2 separate regions of the Homo sapiens genome follow, and region 2 is linked to region 1. Evidence: promoter capture Hi-C in 16 types of primary human blood cells and fetal thymus (Javierre and others, 2016). All regions are on one chromosome and are shown on one strand. Each heading gives the region's core, a stretch centred on a gene start or on the middle of the fragment in contact. The rest is flanking DNA. Distances are from core to core; before and after follow the strand shown.

The links. The method cuts DNA at HindIII sites, captures the fragments that hold promoters and counts their contacts. A CHiCAGO score of 5 or more calls a contact.
Region 2: a contact is called between a fragment that was not itself captured here and the fragment with the promoter of C10orf55 in region 1, in 1 of 17 cell types (total CD8 T cells). The highest score is 5.3, in total CD8 T cells.

The regions. Positions count from the first base shown.
Region 1 is chr10:73,919,178-73,925,505 of GRCh38, reverse strand. C10orf55 (chromosome 10 putative open reading frame 55) reads left to right here and starts at 2,729. Exons shown (of 5, transcript NR_160938.1): 1 at 2,729-2,873. RefSeq lists enhancers at 4,039-4,685, 4,686-5,334. The HindIII fragment of the contact is 3,151 bases long and covers 977-4,127 here.
Region 2 is chr10:75,055,861-75,062,188 of GRCh38, reverse strand. It overlaps DUSP29 (dual specificity phosphatase 29), which reads left to right. Exons shown (of 4, transcript NM_001003892.3): 2 at 3,641-3,874. The coding sequence starts at 3,675. Among named protein-coding and RNA genes, the nearest start is that of DUSP29, 15 kb to the left of the region's middle. RefSeq lists an enhancer at 3,417-3,968. The HindIII fragment of the contact is 1,146 bases long and covers 2,413-3,558 here.

The DNA of each region.
Region 1 (6,328 bases), core at 1,480-3,979:
ATGCCAGGCCCATGGCCGACTCCCAATAAGTGTTTGCTATATTAATGAGTGAAGGATGAATCAGTGAATAAATGAAACTTTTGGGTTCTCTTCTAGCCCCTAATCCTCACCAACCTGTGCTAAGAATGCCCTTCTTAGGCCAGCCATGGTGGCTTATGCCTATAATCTCAGCACACTGGAAGGCCAAGGCAGGAGGATCACTTGAGCCCAGGAGTTTGAGACCAGCCAGCCTGGGCAACATGGTAAGACCCTGTCTCTACAAAAGAATTAAAAAAAAAAATTAGCCAGGTGTGGTGGCACATACCTGTGGTTCCAGTTACTTGGAAGGCTGAGGCAGGAGGATCATTTAAACCCAGGAGGTCAAGGCTGCAGTGAACTAGGATTGTGCCACTGCACTCCAGCCTGGGCAACAGAGCAAGACCCTGCTTCAAAAAAGAAAAAAAGAGTGCTCTTCTTTTAGTGGTCCTTTGGTCCTTTTTTTTTTTTTTTTTCTGAGACTGAGTTTTGCTCTTGTCGCCCAGGCTGTAGTGCAGTGGCACCAAACTGGGAAGCTATTGTAGGGTAGACTGGGCTCAACTAATGGTGATGGTGGGGAGGGAGAGAAATGGACGACTTCAAGAGATATCAGTCAAATCCCCAGGATTTGGTGATGGAGGGGATGAAGGAAACCAGGAGAGAAGCATCAGGATGGCCCCAGGTTTCTGGCTTTCATAATTGAATGGATGTGGTGCTATCATCTGAGACAGAAAGTGATGGGAGATGTCTCCACACTGGGGCATGAAGACTCGGCCAGTTTGGGGCAGGTTGACTTTGAGGTCCCCTGTGAGTGACAACCAAAAGGGGTGTCAAGTAGACAACAGAAAATAAGAGTCTGGAGTGCAGAAGAGAGGTCTGGCTAGAGATCAGCTTTGTAAGCCATCTGTTTATTGGTGGTCATTTAAGCCTGGGTGCTAACAAGATCCTAAGGGAGAAAGCTTAGGGTGGGAATAGGAAGTTTAAGATCAGGCTTTAGGAATCCTAACATTTAAGACCGAGTAAAAGAGGTTGAGATTACAAAGGAACCCAAGAAGCCAGAGATGTTAACAATGGCTGTGGAATGCTATGAAAGTATTTTACATTTGTAGCTACTTTTACAATTGAATAAAAATGTTTAGTTTAAAAAGCCAATTTTTTTATGGCTTCTAGAACTTAATTCACTTTCTGGATTTTGAAAAATAGTGCCTGAGGGCAAGAGGTGATAGTCAAAATATTTAACTATCAAGATACCCCAGTAGGACACTTTCGCCTGAGCCAGCTGGAGGAGGGAGGATCTCAGAGGCCTTTGCTGTGCCACAGGCATTAACCCTGTGGTTGCTGGATCATGAAGAAGTGGAGAGAGGCTGATGGCAGGGGCCACGCGGAGAGGATCTCAGGACAGCATCTGTTTAGTCACTGAGCAGAACCAGTGCCTGCTGCTGAGAATCAGTCCTGCAGCAGGGTCATCACCAGCTGGATCCCACCAGATCCTTCCCCACCATCTCCACCTACTCATTGCCCCCCAGAGTTCTCCACCACAATGGACTATTCCTCATTTCCTTAGAACACCTCACCTTTTCATGCCTCCATGAACTTCCCTACGCCTACAATGCCTTTCTTCTAGTTTGGCAAATTTCTGTGTGTATTTGAATGTCCAGGTAAAATATCACCTCTTCTGTAAAGTCGTCATTGACTTCACCAGGCAGAATCAATTGCTTCTTCATTATTTTTCCATGCATTTTATGCAGACTTAGTATAGCACTTTGCAAAGTGGTGAGCTCCTTGAGGACTAGGACTGCCTCATTTGTATCTAAAATAATGTCCTGTGTATGGGTACTTTAAAAAAATGACAAAGGGCCGGGCGCAGTGGCTCATGCCTGTAATCCCAGCACTTTGGGAGGCCGAAGCAGGTGGATCATGAGGTCAGGAATTTAAGATCGGCCTGGCCAAGACGGTGAAACCTCGTCTCTACTAAAAATAGAAAAAAATTAGTGGGGCATGGTGGCAGGCACCTGTAATCCCAGCTACTCGGGAGGCTGAGGCAGAGAATTGCTTGAACCTGGGAGGCAGAGATTGCAGTAAGCCGAGATTGCGCCACTGCACTCCAGCCTGGGCGACAGAGCGAGATTCCATCTCAAAAAAAAAAAGAAAGAAAGAAAGAAATGACAAAGATTGTTGAATGAATCTCAATGTGACTGAAACCTCAAAAAGAGACCTAGAACATCCTTTTTTTTTTTTTTTTTTTTTTGAGATGGGGCCTCTTTATGTTGCCCAGGCTGTTCTGGAACTCCTGAACTCAAGGGATCCTCCCACTTTGGTATCCCAAAGTGCTGGAATTTACAGATGTGAGCCACTGCACCTCGCCTAGACCATCTTTTCCCTCAATTTGTTATTAAAACTCAGCAACCTCACTGACACATGCTATGCCATGGATAAAACTTGAAAACATCATGTTAAGAGTGAAAGAGGCCAGTCACAAAGAACCACATATTATAGGATTCTATTGATATGAAATGCCCAGAATTGGCAAACCCACAGAGAGGACAGAAAGTAGTAAATTAGTGATTGCCTAGGGCTGAGGGGGTTGGGGAGAAAAACGGAGTGATTGTGAGTGGGTACAGGATTTCTTTGTGAGGTGATGAAGTGTTCTAAAATTGATTGTGATGTCTCACAATTCTGTGAATCTACTAAAAACCATTGCATTGTACACTTCAAATGGTGCCAGACGTGGTGGTATGAGCCTGTAATTCCAGCCACTCAGGAGGCTGAGGTGGGAGGATCACTCTGGCCTAGGAGTTTGAGATCAGCCTGGGTGACAGAGCAAGACCCTGTCTCTAGAAAAGAGAAAGAATAAATGGGTAAGTTGTATGATATATGAATTATATCTCAATAAAACTGATTTTTTTTCTTTAGAGACAGGGTCTTGCTCTGTCACCCAGGCTGGAGTGCAGTAGTGCAATCATAGCTCACTGCAGCCTCGAGCTCCTGGGCTCAAGCAATCCTCCCGTCTAGGCCTCCCACAGTATTAGGATTACAGGTGTGAGCCATTGCACCTAGCCCAGAATTGATTTTTAAAAAACACCTCAGCAACTCCTCTTACTTCATCTAATTCAAAGGGAGGGCTTAAATGTTTCCTTCTTGGAAGGAAGGTGGACCCAATGGGAGTGAGTATGGAGGGGTATAGGCAGGGGTGCTGCTGTGGTCAGCTTGGGAAAGATAGGGCATACGTGGAAAGCAGGCTGAGTGCTGTTAATATAATGGGCTGAGAATACTTCAGAAAGAGGGGTTCTGGTGAAAACGGAAACCACTTCAATGAAACCAGATTGCAGCAGAAAGGCTGAGGTTACTGTGAGAACAGTGAAGTTTTACTTTGAAACCAATGGCTGAGTGTGGTCTCCTCATCTGGCCTGGGAATCTTCTAGGAGGAAAGAATTGTTATCTAGGAGAGGATTAAAATTCTGATAGATGAGGCTGGGCGCAGTGGCTCACGCCTGTAATCCCAGCACTTTGGGAGGCCGAGGTGGGTGAACCACGAGGTCAGGAGTTTGAGACCAGCCTGGCCAACATGGTGAAACCCCCGTCTCTACTAAAAATACAAAAATTAGCCGGGTGTGGTGGTGCACGCCTGTAATCCCAGCTACTCAGGAGGCTGAGGCAGGATAATAGCTTGAACCTGGGAAGCAGAGGTTGCAGTGAGCCGAGATGGGCCACTGCACTCCAACCTGGGCGACAGAGCAAGACTGTGTATGGAAAAAAAAAAAAAAATTCTGGGCTGGGCGGGTGGCTTACAACTGTAATCCCAGCACTTTGGGAGCCCAAAGCGGGTGGATCACAAGGTCAAGAGACCGAGACCATCCTGGCCAACATGGTGAAACCCCGTCTCTACTAAAAATACAAAAATTAGCCGGGCGTGGTGGCATGTGCCTGTAATCTCAGCTACTCAGGAGGCTGAGGCAGGAGGATCACTTGAACCCGGGAGGCGGAGGTTGCAGTGAGCCAGGATTACGCCACTGCACTCCAGCCTGGCAACAGAGTGAGACTCCGTCTCAAAAAAAAAAAAAAAATTCTGATAGCTGTTGCCTAGAAACCCAGCAACCATAAAGTAGAAAGCTTGAAAGGGGGGCTGCTCTCCTTTTGCCCTAGTTGGACTCTCCTGAGAGGTGATAAATCCTAGTACCGCGCATGAGGACTCTGGAGATGGCTGCCTGGGTTCGAACCCTGACTCTTTGCATTTGGAGCTGCATTGCCTCGTGCAAGTCACTCAATCTGTCTGTGCCTCCATTTTCTCTACTGTTAAATGGGGCTAGTGATACTACCTTCCTCATAGGATTCTTGGGAGGATTAACTCAGACAACACATGAATAATTTAGCACAGTGTTGGTCTGGCATGGTGGCTCATGCTTGTAATCCCAGCACTTTGGGAGGCTGAGGCGGGTTGATCACTTGAGGTTAGGAGTTTGAGACCAACCCGGCCAACATGGTGAAACCCCATCTCTATTGAAAGTACAAAAAATTAGCCAGGCGTAGTGGCGGGCGCCTGTAATCTCAGCTACTCGGGAGGCTGAGGCAGGAGAACTGCTTGAACCCGGGAGGCAAAGGTTGCACAGTGAGCTGAGATTGAGCCACTACACTCCAAACTGGGGGACAGAGCAAGACTCCATCTCAAACAAAAAAAAAAAAGGCCGGGCACGGTGGCTCACGCCTGTAATCCCAACATTCTGGGAGGCCGAGGCAGGCGGATCACGAAGTCAGGAAATCAAGACCATCCTGGCCAACATGGTGAAACCCCATCTCTACTAAAAACAATACAAAAAGTAGCCGGGCGTGGTGGTGGGCGCCTGTAATCCCAGCTACTCGGGAGGCTGAGGCAGGAGAATCGCTTGAACCTGGGAGGCGGAGGTTGCAGTGAGCCGAGATCACACCACTGCACTCCAGCCTGGGCGACAGAGCGATACTCCATCTCAAAAAAAAAAAAAACAAAAGCAAAAACAGAAAAAGCACAGTGCTTGATCGTGGAGGCACTAATAGGAGGCAGTCTCTGGAGTGAGAATCTGGAACTGTGAAACTGGTTGCTGGAGAAGCGGCTGATGCCTGCTAGCCTGGGGTGAGATCTAATATTAGGCAAAGAGACAGCAGCTGGCTGGGGGTCAGGGTGTTGGCTGGGAAATGGCCTGAAAATTGTTAACAGCCTCCTGGCTTAACCCTGCCAGTAGGGCTCATACTTCCTGTTTTCAGTGTCTCTGAGCCCTGATGCTGGAGCTGCTCAAGTTTGAACAAGATCTTTCTTGGCCCCTGAGGGGAAGGCAGAAACTGAACAGCCACTCGGCTTGGGCAGCTTCCTAGCAGGTTTCCACTCCCGCAAAATAGTGCAGTTCTGAGGTGGGAGAGGGCAGAGGGTTCCCATCTGATCTGATGCTACAATAATTTACTTAGCTTTGTAATAATAACCACCGTTTTTATGCTTTTATTAGGTGCCAGTATTATGCTAAAGGACTTATGAACTCATGAATCCTTTCTGTTGTTGTTGTTGTTGTTGAGACGAAGTCTTGCTCTCTGTTGCCCAGGATAGAGTGCAGTGGTGTGATCTCGGCTCACTGCAAATTCCACCTCCCAGTTTCAAGCAATTCTCGTGCCTCAGACTCCCGAGTAGCTGGGATTACAGGCATATGCCACCACGCCTGGCTAATTTTTGTATTTTTTTTTTTTTAGTGGAGACAGGGTTTCACCTTGTTGGTCAGGCTGGTCTCGAATTCCTGGCCTCAGGTGATCCGCCCACCTTGGCCTCCCGAAGCACTGGGATTACAGGCTGAGCCACTGTGTCTGGCCTTCATGAATCCTTATAACAACCCAGGGAGGTAGATTGTATCATCTCTTTTGTACAGATGAGGAAACTGAGGTGCAGAGAGGCTAATAACCTTTCTCAAGTCACACAGCTGGTGTTAGATTCTAGTTCAGGCCACCGGACTCGAAAATCCATGCTCTAAACCACTGCATCAACCTGTGTAAAACAGCACACTAGATGATGGGGATCAAAAGCCGAATACTAATCCCAGTACTTTGGGAGACCAAGGGAGGCAGATCACCTGAGGTCGGGAGTTCGAGACCAGCCTGGCCAACAGGGTGAAACCCCATCTCTACCAAAAACACAAAAATGAGCCGGGTAGTGGTAGTGCATGCTTGTAATCCCAGCTACTTGGGAGGCTGAGGCAGGAGAATCGCTTGAACCTGGGAGGCAGAAGCTGCAGTGAGCTAAGATTGCGCCACTGCACTCCAGCCTGGGTGACAGAGTGAGACCCTGCCTCAAAAAAAAGAA
Region 2 (6,328 bases), core at 1,736-4,235, 1.1 Mb before region 1:
CTGTGGGCCTGAAGCAAGGAGGGCTATAACTACGTATGCTCTTAGGGGACTGAAAGGTCTGGGCTCGTTTCTGTGAGAAAGATTTCTGGCCACTCCTTAAAATAATTTCTTCCTTCCTGACTGGAAACACAGCAGGCAGGCCCCAGAATAGAGTTTGGGCCTGAATGACCACCCGTGGGGGAGGGCAGCCCACCCTGCGCCTGCAGTCCCCTCACCTTCTCCCTCCTCCAAATCAGCCTGGAGGCTCAGTCCTGCCTTAGCAGCTCTTGCTGAGCCCCTTGCACAGGCCTCACAGCCCTTAATCATTCCTTCACCCCTCAGTCACTCATTCACTCATTCCATTCATTCACTAAGCCACTTCCTCATCCAACCCATATCTCCTGAGCACCTCTTACGTGCCAGACACCAAGGCTACAGAGAGAAGCCACACTCAGGAGCCCCGAAGCAAGGTCCTCTCTCCTCCCAGCCTGCAGCTGCATTCTGGGCCAAAGACCGGGCCTCCCACCCCACTGGGACAGCGGGAGGCATTTTGAATGAGCACCCTCACTACCTTTCCCTTGACTCCGCAGCACCCTGGCTCTCTAGCCACATCTCAGACAATTATTATCAAACTTTACTAAGCGTCAGACTCACTTCGGAGCTCATTGAGATACAGATGCCTGCGCCCCTACGAGGGTGCAGCCCGGATATCTGTATTTTTGGTTAGTGCCAGGTGACTCTGACAGACGTGGTCTTCAGACCACACTTTGAGAGACTTCACAGGAGGGTCCCCTTTGCTGCCTATTGCCCTCTCCACACTTCACCAGGAAGCAGGAAGTTGTTGGAGGAAGTCACAAACCCTGGCTTCCCACAATCCCTACAGACACTCATGGCTAGCTAGTGATCCTTTAAGTCATCTGCTATGGACTTGGGAGAATCCAATTCCCCAAAGCAGTGGTCTCAACCCTTTCCTTTTAAATTTCTATCATGGAGAATTTCAAACACACCTGAAGAGAAACAGCAACTGGCCAGGTGTGATGGCTCACACCTGTAATCCCAACACTTTGGGAAGCTGAGGTGGGAGGATCACTTGAGCTCAGGAGTTCGAGACCAGCTTGGCCAACATAGCGAGACCTCATCTCTATTTTAAAAAAGGAAAAAAGAGAAACAACAACTACCTTATAACCATCATCCAGCCCCAATCACCATCACTCATAGCCAGCCCATCTCATTCACACCTACATCAATACCTTGCCCCAACATTATATTATTTATATTTTCCAACTATATTATTTTTGAAGCAAATATTTCAGTATGTTTTTCTAAAAGATAAGGCCCTGTGGTATAACGTAACTGTCCTCGGAATCTCCAGCAAGTCGGCTGATAGATATAGACCTCTTTGGTGAGATGATTCCCGCCATGGTGGTGTGCTCTTCTATTCGAAGGCATATGATGTCTGACCATCTCTTCTTATTCATACGTGGCTGGCAGTTTATGCTCAGTCTCTGGATGCAGCAACTCATCAGGTGGTGTAAAATGGTGCTTCCTTCTTTATTCATTATCTGGAATACTTCTATAAAAGAACATTTCCCGTATCAACCCAGTAGTATATAGTTTGTAAAAGAGAGAAGCAATACATGCAGATTCTTCTCCTTTATCTATCCATCTTCAAAATAAGGAGCTGGTTCCCAAACATCTTCCAACCGTGCATAATAAGTTTTGGGTTTTTTTTTTTTTTTTTATAAGGTCTCACTGTGTTGCCCAGGAGAGCAGTGATATGATCTTGGCTCACTATAGCCTCAGCCTCCTGGGCTCCAGTGGTCCTCCCACCTCAGCCTCAGCCTCCTGAGTAGCTGGGACTACAGGCATGCACCACCACACCCAGCTAATTTTTGCATTTTTTTGTAGAGATGGGTTTTGTCATGTTGCTCAGGCTGGTCTTGAACTCCTGGGCTCATGCAATCTGCCCACCTCAGCCTCCCAGAGTGCTGGGATTACAGGCATAAGCCACTGCTCCCGGACTGTTTTCAGTATTATTATTATTATTTTGAGATGGAGTTTCACTCTTGTTGCCCAGGCTGGAGTGCAGTGGTGCGATCTCAGCTCACTGCAACCTCTGCCTCCTAGGTTCAAGCGATTCTCCTGCCTCAGCCTCCCAAGTAGCTGGGATTACAGGCACCCGCCACTACACCCGGCTAATTTTTTGTATTTTTAGTAGAGATGGGGTTTCGCCATGTTAGGCAGTCTGGTCTTGAACTCCTGACCTCAGGTGATCTGCCCGCCTCGGCCTCCCAAAGTGCTGGGATTACAGGCATGAGCCACCGCGCCTGGCCTTCAGTATTATTATGACCTAAGTGTTTGATGTGTTTTGATCCACTGGAATTATTTTTATTTTTCATGTTCAAATTGTTCCAGTTTTGATAAGTGGAAGCTTCTTCAAGTTGTATTCTGAGTCCCTTTGACATGTTCCTAATGGTCTTTGAAGCCATGAACCCTTTCCTACATTCTCTGCATCCCCGGCCTGCCCCTCCTCACACTGCACCTCCCATCTCCCTCCCCCTGACACTAAGACCCTGTGCTACAGACAGCCTCAATTCATGATCCTCCTTATCTGTAAAATGGGGCTAATGATAGGGTATTAGGATAACCCTATCTCAGTGTTGTTAAGATTAAATGGGCTTACAATCATCAAGCACTTGGAATAGTGTCTGGCACACAATAGGTGTTATATAAGTATTTGTCAAATAAATAAACAAATAGCATTCACCTCCATGGTTCTCAGTCTTCCCACCTTTTCCTCCTTCTCTCCAGTCTCCTTTCCCAGGCTGACCATAGGTGCATCATTTACTCAGCTCAGGAAACAATCAATGTCCAATTCCACTGCAAATTCCTCTCCTTGGGGACAATGGAAAGTCCTCTCCCACATTCCACTGGCAGAGCCTAACAAGCTCTCCAAATGCACATTTCAGTCTCGAGGCACAGCTTTCTATCTTGGGGCATCTCTTCCAATCCCCTTGGTAAGTTAACACAGTGATGGCCAGGCTCCCAGTGTGAGAGTGTGAGCATTGCCTTCAGCTCTTCTGACAGGTTAACCCTCATGCAGCCAGGTTTCCTCCCCTCTCAAGGCTTCTGAAGTCCTGCTGATGTGCGTGTGGCCCAGACCCAGGCCCGGGCAGGTATGGCCTTGGCGATGTACTCTTTCCACTGGCTGACGGCTCCCTGCAGACACTGAGAGGGCCACAGGCCTGGAATGTCAGGAATCTTCTGGGCCTTCCTATTTTGGGTCCCAAATGGCCCAAACCAGTAGGTTTCAGTCAGATAAAGGAAAAAGTAGGAACCAAAGGAGTAAAGTCTAAAGAAAGGTGGGAAGGAACTGGCTGCTTGCAGGATTTCTTAGCTCCAGAGCCCGCCTTGGCCCACGTCCAAGGACCCCAGCTCTCCTTCTCTAGAAAGATTGGAACATTGGGGAAGTGTCATTTAACTGCCATCATGGCCTTCCTTGTTTACCTGTGTGGCCTGGGAAGAGGAAGCCGGGGCATAGCAGGTTGGGGAAACTCTTTCCAAATTTTAAGATAAGCTTATTCCCACCTCTTTTTGTAAAGCCTATTCCCTGCCTCAGTGTCCCCTGCTAACCCCCATCCTGCTTCTCTCTCATAACCAGCTGCAGAAAGGAGAGAAAATCCCTTGGCTCTAAAATGACATCTGGAGAAGTGAAGACAAGCCTCAAGAATGCCTACTCATCTGCCAAGAGGCTGTCGCCGAAGATGGAGGAGGAAGGGGAGGAGGAGGACTACTGCACCCCTGGAGCCTTTGAGCTGGAGCGGCTCTTCTGGAAGGGCAGTCCCCAGTACACCCACGTCAACGAGGTCTGGCCCAAGCTCTACATTGGCGATGAGTAAGTGCCCAGGCCCAGGCTCGCTTGGGAGCAGGCAGCAGCCCCTCCCCAGGCCACGCCCTGCGCCACCTCCTAGCCATGGGCTTTGGAATTTGTAGTCGTTCTGTGAGAACTCAATTAGTTAGGGCTGGGCTTGCCTTCACATTACAGAAAACCTAAACAAAGTCTTAGGCAAGATAGAGGTTTATTTCTCTCTCACATATAAGTGCAGAGGGAGGTGGGCTGGGGCTGGCACGGCCACTGCAGGGTCATCAGGGACTCAGACTCCTGTGTTTCTGCGCCACTGTCCTGGGGACGTGGCTTCTTCCCTCCAGGTGCTGCAGGGTCCCAGATTGCCGCCAGGACCCCAGCCATCAACTCTAGGACCCAGACAGCAGGAGGGTGGAGGGAAAGAAAGAGCAGAAGGGCATCTTCCGAAAGCAAAGTCCCATCCCAGACTTCCCCTGCCCCTAGCTGCAAGGGAGCCTGGGAAATGTAGTCTTTTATTTTAGCTAGCTATAATACCCTCAAGAATAAAATCAGTTCTTAGGTGGATGGTGCAGGAACACATCAATATATGCCTGGAAGTATGGGAGCCTAAATTTAGGTCACTGTCACCTCCTTTAGATTTTTATAACCACCATTCCCCACTCCCTACACAACTGAGATGCACCTACTGTAAATAATATTAATAATGATAACGACTATCCTTTCTTGAACACTGTATGCCAGGCATTGTGCTAAGCATCCTGCATGCATGATCTCATTTTACTCTCCTGATAACCCAGTGATAGAGGCTAATTACTCCCATTATAAAGATAGGGAAACTGAGGCACAGAGCAGTTAAATAACTGGCCCAAGTCCCACAGCTCAGTCAGTGGCAGAGAGCTGGGATTAAAATGCAGCTCTGCCCAACCCAGAGGCTTGTTCTTAACTGCTCCTCCCTCCACTCTCCCGGACTCCAGCCATGTTCCATCTCACCAAGGAGCAGATGCAGATGCTGTAGGACCCCTCCATATATTATTGTATTTATTTTTTTTCTTTTTCTTTTTTTTTCGAGACAGTCTCACCCTGTCACCCACGTTGAAGTGCAGGTTGGAGTGGTGTGACCTCGGCTCACTGCAACCTCTGCCTCCTGGGTTCAAGCAATCCTCTGTCTCAGCTTCCCAAGTAGCTGGGATTACAGGCACCTGCCTCCACACCTGGCTAATTTTTTATTTTTAGTAGAAACAGGGTTTCACCATGTTGGCCAGGCTGGTCTCCAACTCCTGACCTCAGTTGATCTGCCCACATCAGCCTCCCAAAGTGCCGGGATTAAAGGTGTGAGCCACCGTGCCCGGCCTATATGTGATTTTAATACATATCTTGCTGCTTAATACCTGGAGATAATCGTCTAGCCATAGGAAGATCCAGGGTAAGCATCCCTTGCCTTTCGTCTTTCTTTTTTTAAATTGAAAAAGTTACAAATATGACATGCTTAATTATACTAGGTTAAATGAGGTAGAGGGTTATAAAGACAAACTGCATAATCTCCCTTTGTCTCCTCTTAATTCTACCCCTGACTAACCAGTGTTAAATTTACTTGCATACTTCTACTACCTTGTGTGGGCTATTGCCAACATAAGGAAACATATACACACATATAAAGGGTTTACTTTTTTTTTTTTTTGAGATGGAGTCTCCCTCTGTCACCCAGGCTGGAGTGCAGTGGCACCATCTTGACTCACTGCAACCTCCACCTCCTGGGTTCAAGCGATTCTCTTGCCTCAGCCTCCTGAGTAGCTGGGATTACAGGCATGCGCCACCACGCCCAGCTAATTTTTTTTTTTTTTTGAGATGTCCCTCAATGGCGCAATCTCGGCTCACTGCAACCTCCACCTCCTGGGTTCAAGTGATTCTCCTGTCTCAGCCTCCTGAGTAGCAAGAGTAACAGACACCTGCCACTATACCTGACTGATTTTTGTATTTTTAGTAGAGACAGGATTTCACTGTGTTGGCCAGGCTGGTCTCCAACTCCTGAACTCAGGTGATCCACCTGCCTCAGCCTCCCGAAGTGCTGGGATTAAAGGTGTGAGCCACTGCACCCAGGCCTATATATTTTTTAAGCAATTAAAAATGAATCATAGGCTGGGTGCTATGACTCACACCTGTAATCCCAATACTTTGGGAGGCTGAGGCAGGAGGATCGCTTGAGGGCAGGAGTTGGAGATTAGCCTGGACAAAATAGTGAGATCTTGTCTATACAAAAAAAACACAAAAAACAAAAAGCACCAGCATGGTGGTGCACACCTATAGTCCCAGCTACTGGGGAGGGAGGAAGATTGCTGGAGACCAGGAGAGTGATGCTGCAGTGAGCCAAGATTGTGCCACTGCACTTTAGCCTGAGGGATAGAGCAACAGTTTGTCTCCAAAACAAACAAAACCCCATACTATATATACATACTGTTGTATACTTTTATTAATCCATAGTTAGCT